2 separate regions of the Homo sapiens genome follow, and region 1 is linked to region 2. Evidence: promoter capture Hi-C in 16 types of primary human blood cells and fetal thymus (Javierre and others, 2016). All regions are on one chromosome and are shown on one strand. The core of a region is centred on a gene start or on the middle of the fragment in contact, and the rest is flanking DNA. Distances in the headings are between cores, read along the strand shown.

Evidence for each region. The method cuts DNA at HindIII sites, captures the fragments that hold promoters and counts their contacts. A CHiCAGO score of 5 or more calls a contact.
Region 1: a contact is called between a fragment that was not itself captured here and the fragment with the promoter of CPD in region 2, in 1 of 17 cell types (total CD4 T cells). The highest score is 5.6, in total CD4 T cells.

Annotation. Positions count from the first base shown.
Region 1 is chr17:30,128,761-30,132,323 of GRCh38, reverse strand. The region is part of intron 2 of NSRP1 (nuclear speckle splicing regulatory protein 1); the gene reads right to left. Among named protein-coding and RNA genes, the nearest start is that of MIR3184, 13 kb to the right of the region's middle. The HindIII fragment of the contact is 7,104 bases long and covers 1-3,563 here.
Region 2 is chr17:30,376,546-30,380,200 of GRCh38, reverse strand. CPD (carboxypeptidase D) reads right to left here and starts at 1,274. Exons shown (of 21, transcript NM_001304.5): 1 at 475-1,274. The coding sequence starts at 1,220. RefSeq lists silencers at 799-928, 1,229-1,468 and enhancers at 446-1,373, 1,519-1,688, 2,959-3,008, 3,259-3,548. The HindIII fragment of the contact is 3,432 bases long and covers 567-3,655 here.

The sequences.
Region 1 (3,563 bases), core at 1,025-3,524, 250 kb after region 2:
ACTTCAGTCTCCCAAAGTGCTGGGATTATAGGCATGAGCCACTGCACTGGTTTCTTTTCTTTTCTTTTTTTTTTTTTTGAGACAGTCTCGCTCTGTCGCCCAGGCTGGAGTGCAGTGGTATGATCTCAGCTCACTGCAAGCTCTGCCTCCCTGGTTCATGCCATTCTCCTGCCTCAGCCTCCGGAGTAGCTGGGACTACAGGCGCCCGCCACCATGCCCGGCTAATTTTTTGTATTTTTAGTAGAGACGGGGTTTCACCATGTTAGCCAGGATGGTCTTGATCTCCTGACCTTGTGATCCGCCCGCCTCGGCCTCCCAAAGTGCTGGGATTACAAGCGTGAGCCACCGCGCCTGGCCTTGCACTGGTTTCTTTATATAGAATCTACTCATGGTGACGACGTGAGCATTGTTGAAATGACAACAAAGAATTTAGATTATTACATAAACTTAGTTGATAAAACAGCAGCAGGATTTGAGAGGACTGACTCCAATTTTTAAAGTTCTACTGTGGGTAAATGCTATCAAACAGCATCACATGTTACCGAGAAATAATTCATTAAAGGAAGAGTCGATCAATGCAGCAAACTTCATTTTTGTCTTAAGAAATTGCTACGGCCACCCAGCCTTCAGCAAACATCACCTGATCAGTCAGCAGCCATTAACATTGAGACAAAACCCTCCACCAGCAAAAAGATTATTGCTGGCTAAAGGCTCACATGATCATTAGCATTTTTTAGCATAAAGTATTTTAAAATTATGGTATAGGCATTTTTTTAGCTATAATGCTATTACACACTTTAAAAACTACAGCATAGCATAAACATAACTTTTATATACACTAGGAAACAAAAAACTTACATGACTTGCTTTACTGAGATATTTACTTTATTGCAGTGGTCTGGAACCATACCCACAATATCAGTGAGGTATACCTGTGTATCTTTGAACTATCATTTCCATCTCTTCCTCTCTCTCTTCCCTGTCAAACTCTTCAAAATAAGATTACTAATTAAATTTTAAAAGTTACTATTCAGATGAGAGGACAATAAAAGACAGAGAAACTGTAGAGCTAAAGAAAATATATTGAAGACTAAAATAACACCAATAGAGCTAATAAATTAGAAACAGTAAGAAACAGAAAAGCTATAACTGAAACACTGACAAAAGTTTAATCTTAGTAGAGAGAAAAAGACATAGACTGAGTAATTTCCCTAAATACCTGTTTAATTTTCCTTATCCTGCTCTACTTTTTCACAGCTCTGTAATCTTCTAAATTCACATGTAACTTACTTATCTGTTATGTTAATTACTTATCACCCCCCACCACCACCACCTTGAGAATATAAGTGCCATAAAGGCAGTGGCTTTTGTTATGTTTCACTGGCACAGGGCAAGTGATCAATAAATATCTGTTGAATGCATTAATAAATGCATGACGATGATATGAAAGACAAAGATGATCCTCCAAAATGATAACCCAGCACATGGATGACAGTAAATTTCAATGAAATGAAGAAAAAGCTAAATATTTAGAGAAAAAGAAACAGTGTATTCCTGGAAAAAACAATTCAACATTATTTGCAGCAAGACACATTGAGTTAAAAAGGCTATATACTCTCCAGTAGTCCAAGCCAATTAAAAAAAGTCTAGAAGTAGGGATAAAAGAAACTATAGTGTTGTACTTCCTCATAAGAACATTAAGTACCAGAAAAAATCACTAATGTCTGTAAGATTTTGAAATAAATTGTTATTGTAGAAATATTACACCCAATCAAGTAGATATTTAAGTGACAAAAGCAATGGGCAAGCATTATTTAACAATCAAAAACTTAAGAAATAATGCCCCAATGAGCACATGTTGAAAAACTATGAAATTAAGTCAAAGACCTCAGAAATGGAAAACAATGGTTAAAAAGACTAGTGGACGCTGGGCATAGTGGCTCACACTTCTAATCCCAGTACTTTGAGAGGCTGAGGCAGGAGGATCATTTGAAGCCAGGGGCTCCAGAACAGCCTGGGCAACATAGTGAGACTCTGTCTCAACAAAAAAATAAAAAAAAATTAGGCAGGCATGGTAGTGCATGACTGTAGTCTCAGCTACTTGGGAGGCTGAGGTGGGAGAATTGCTTGAGCCCAGGAGGTTGAGGCTACAGTGAGCTGTGACAGAGCCACTGCACTCTAGCCTGGACAACAGTGAGTCCCTGTCTCAAAATGAAATATTTTAAAAAAGAAAAAGAAAAATAAGGAGGACAGAATTTTCTTGCCATCTCCCCACTTCTAATAGAATTGTCTTAGTTCCATCCTTTTCCTTTTCTCTCTTCTTGCTTTTTCACTCTTAGCCAGTATGTTAAGGATGAAATTTTAGCAAATTGCAAAATTACTTTAAATCCCTCACTGTTTGATATACTCGGTACCATAAATTTACTAGTAATTCAGTTTAATAGCATATGAGAAAAGTTCACAAATTCTCAGCCATCATTAAAATAACCTAAATTTCCCAACATTTTCACAATATGCTTTGTCTTATCTATGTACAACTGTCTTTTTATTTGAACTATACTAGACTATATCTACAGAAGTAAGGCATTATCTGATTAAAACTGATGAAAAACCACAACTAAAACATTTTATTGATTTGGATGTACTATAATGTTCAGACAGATTAAAATTTTAACTTTTTCTTACCAATAGTAAGCCAAACAGGCTTCCAGCTAAAATAAGATTAATTTTTCATTAGGAAAACCAAACCTTCAACTTACTTTTTCAAGAAAATTTTTAAAAAGATTAAAGAGGAGAAATATCAAGAAATAGTGAAAGGAATGGAAGTGTATACACTTATGTAATCCTGTAACTTGCTAATGCTTCTTACTTTGGGAATACACAATTATGGTTATCTTTTTTTTTTTAAGCACTCACTTCCTTGTATTCGTCAAAATTATAACAAAATAATAATATGATTTTGAAAAAAAACTCACACTACCATGCTAAAAAGTAATCATTTTCATTTATTATTTTTTACTTATCTGTGCACCTATAGCATTGTACAACCCTAAGTATTCAATTTTGTATCCTTATTTCATCTACCTCATGCTTTTAAAATGTCCCAATATTTTCTCTCCTAGTCTTCTATCAGATAAAATGTGTTATATCTTTTTACATTTTAATATGATTTGGAAACTAAATACACTATGGGAAATCCTTAAAATTCACCATAATTTTTCTTAAAAAATAGTTGAAAATACAGAAAAGTATAAAAAAAAAAATCATGCCAGGCGTGGTGGCTCACACCTGTAATCCCAGCACTTGGGGACACCAAAGCAGGAGGATCACTTGAGGCCTGGAGTTCAAAATGAGCCTGGGCAATATAGCGAGACCCCCATCTCTACAAATTAAAAAAAAAAAAACAAAAAAACCACTCATTGTCTGCCATACAAAGATAACTACCATTAATATGAAATGCTTTATTGTCTTTTTTCCTTTTATCTATAACAAATTTGTATATATTTTTTCACTAAATGTTATTTCATGATGAATGTGATAGCCGTAGTATTGCACACACTTTA
Region 2 (3,655 bases), core at 25-2,524:
TTCCCCGTATGCAAAACTGATGGTGTCTATGACATCAGGTTGTGGCCAAAATAAAGTGAGATACTGCAGTCACAGAAAAAATTAGCACAGCGCCTATAACATTAGGCACTTTTGATATAAGATAACAACATTGACAGCTTATCTATAAAATGTGTGAGCTGACCTAGGTTATCCTTAAGATCTCTTCTCGCTCATATTCTATGCCCCTGTAAGAATAGGGACCAGAAATGTCAGAAAGGAGTGTCCCCTCCAGCCATCCCTTGAACAAATGACAGCCTCTAGGAGGCAATTCTTTGATGATTAGCAGGACGGGAGGCTACGCGGCCTGGGCCCTGTCCCCGTTACAGGGTGTCTCCCTTCACCTTCACCACCGCCACCCCTTATGCCAGCATTGTCTGAGCGCCTACTGGGTGCCGGAACCAGCCTCGGCCCTTGGAGGCTCACACGGACGGGGAGGGGGCAGGCAACACTCACTTGTTCCTGCGGATCCACTCGATGAGGGCGCGCACCTCGGGCACCTCGTCCAGGGCGGGGGGTTCGCCGGTGCTAAACTGGTCGGGAAAGCTTCGGTTGAGGTCGCGGCCGCGACTATTGTCGCGGCCGCTGGCCCCGGACGGGCCGCCGTCGCCGAAGCCACAGTCGCCCTCGCGGGCACGCTCGAAGCCATCGGGGTTGAGGCTGGGCAGCAGGTACACGTCGGTGGTGTTGAGCAGGCGGACCAGGCGCGGGTCCCCGCGGCGGTAGCCGGCCGCCAGCTCGCGGGCCAAGTAGATCAACACCTGGCGCGACACGGTCTCGTCGCCATGCATGTTGCCCACCAGCTTCACCTGGGGCCGGCCGGGCAGCAGCGGCCCCGCAGCGTCGGGCCCGGCAGCGTCAGGCCCCGCGTCGCCCTCAGGGATTAGCGACCCCAGGCCGGCGGTGAGGCGAAGCACCCACAGCGGCCGGCCTTCCACCGAGCGGCCGATGCTAAAGAGGCGGGCCAGGCCGGGGAGGCCCGCGGCCGCCGCCTCCCTCAGCGCCGACTCCAACTCCTCTTCGTGGTAGTAGCGGTCGAACTGGCCCTCGGCCGCCTCGGCGCCCGCGCTCGTAGTTGTGGTAGTCGCCTCCGCCTTCTTGATGTGAGCCGCCCGGGCCGAGCTCCCCAGCAGCAGCAGGCACATGAGCAACAGGAGCCGCCCTAGCCGCCAAGGCGGCCGCTCGTCCCGGCCGCTCGCCATCTTCCAGCAGCGCCGCTAACCCCGGCTCCGCTCCCGCGGCTCAGCGCTCCGGGCGGCGGGGGCCCGCCGGATCCCCTCCTCGCCTAGCAACCCCATCCCGCCCTCTGGCCGCAGCCAATCGCGGACGGGCCTGGTGGAGCGTCACCACCAGGGGGCGGGGCTTCCCTTAAAGCAGCCGATTCCCTCTGGGCGGGCCTGCCCTCCTCCCGTCCGGGACGAGTTTGGTCACTCTCTTCCTTCGCCAAGGTTCTTCTTCTCTTCTCCTCCTCCTTGTTTCGTCTTCTGCGTGTGCTCCGCTTCTCGCTTAGTCTCTTCTTTATGGCTTCTCCCCTAAATTATCACCCATTTTTCTCTGAGAACTCCTGCTAGTTCTCTTCCCATCTTTGTTGCTGCCTTTCTCAGCTGCGCTTTAATGCTTAGAACCGAGAATGGAAAGAATCAAAAGGTTCGAAAGAATCATAAGACTAGAAAAAATCAATAGGTTCGAAAGAATCTTCGTTCGGACACTCAAAGCCTTAGCCCAGTCTCCTAGGCGCCTTGTCTCCGCATCCACCCCGCCTCCGCTGGAGCCCCGCTGTCCGCGTGCGGTTGCACGGGACGCCTCGTGGGGAGGAAGGCTCGCACCTCACTAGGCGGTGCATTCATTTTTAGAGTTGCTTTCTGGAAAGGTGTCTCTTTTATGCCTAGCGGAAATGTGCTACGTAGTAGGCTCCCTTTGTGTTAATGTTGTCTATTTCTTAGGCGTCACCCCACGTTGTTTTACTGCAAATAGGTCCCTGTGTGTGCTGGCCTCGACCCTCATTAGGCAGATTTCATTTCACAGCTCACCGGCCCACTTCTCCCACCTCATCGGAGCAAGTTGTATATTTAACTGTGCCCTGGAATGACATATTTTAAAACAGCAGGTTTGACATTTCTGGAAACACTTGCTTGGCATTCCTGAACTCCTCAGTGTCAGCCAAAGATGGCAATTACAGCGTTTCATCAAGTCTAGAGAAGAGGTCTTTTAAATCACCTTTTATAGGCTTTAGTTTCTTTAGCTTGAAGAAACCCAAAACTATCCCTTAATCGAATGCGAAATTCTACCCATCTAACAACATAATCGCAATAACCGGCATTACCTTCTTTCAGAGCCAGCTATTTCAGGGCCCCTTCCCTGAACTATGACTGAACCCTACTTTAATAGAGTTCATTCATTCGTCAAGTATTTATTGAGCAACTTTTATGTCAAAGCTAGATGCTGGGAAACAATTCATTCTTCTGCCCAGTCAAGAGATTCAGTGTAGTTTGTGATAAATGCTACAACAGAGGGGGTACAGGTGAGGGAAATATCTGAACTTGAGGAGGAGGAAAGGAGGAGAGAAACCATGGAGGATGGGAAGGATCCCAGGCAGGAGGAGAAGCAAGCAAAGAAAGCCGCAGGATTTGAGAACAAATGCCTTGTGTTCTGGGAATTGCATGCAGGGTCAGGATTACTGGTGTGAAGGGGCTCACAGGCCAGTCTTCAGGGAGCACATTTGATCTGGAAGGCCATGGAGAACCACAGACGGGTTTTAAGCTAGTTTAGAAAAATTCCTCTGACAGTAACACGGAAAATTGAATGGGAGGCCTAAGACTTGAGGCTGAGAGACCTGGAAGGAAGCTGCAATCCAGGAAGACATGATGAGACTCTGAATGAGGGCAGTGCCAGTGGAGGTGGAAAGAAGGAAATGGATCTGAAAGACCTTCGGAAAGGAAAGTGGACAGGATCTGGAGACAAAGAGGATTGTAGGCTGACTTCAAGTTACAGCCTAAGCAACTTGCAGGTATTCACTGAGGTACAGGCCAGGAGAAAGCACAGGTTTAGGTGAAGATGATTAATTTAGTATTCTGCCATCAGAGCGAGCACCGTCACTCCGGTCCTGTGAATGGCTCTTCTCCATGCCCCATTTGATCTAGTCTACATTATGCACAGCAGCTGCAACTCATCAGAAACAAAGCCACAACTCTGTACAGAGAGACCGCCCACCACCTCCCGGGAGTGCTCAACTATTACACCATGCACTTTTACAGTAATCCAAGTCAAAGAAGCCCCAGAGGACATGTTAACTTCTAATCAAATATTTCCTTTTCTACCACGTTCACTCTCCTTTGAAACCTCTTCCAGCCCCTTCACTCCTGCAGCCTCGCCTAGAGAGGCAGCCTGAAATGTAAATAAACAAGCATGAGGGTGGTGAAATAATATGGGAATGTAACTTGAGCCGGTGTCCTCTCAGAAATCCCCAGGCCTTCCGTGGGCCTCTTTCAGGTCTGCAGCCTTCTTCCTTAGCAGGTACACAGTTGCTTATGGTTATAAGTGAAACCCAAAGCTCTGGACCTCAGTCACTTTTGTGTTTACCTACAGGTTTGTGTTTACCTACAGCTGAATACCTCCAATTGTGTCTGAGAAGTCTTGA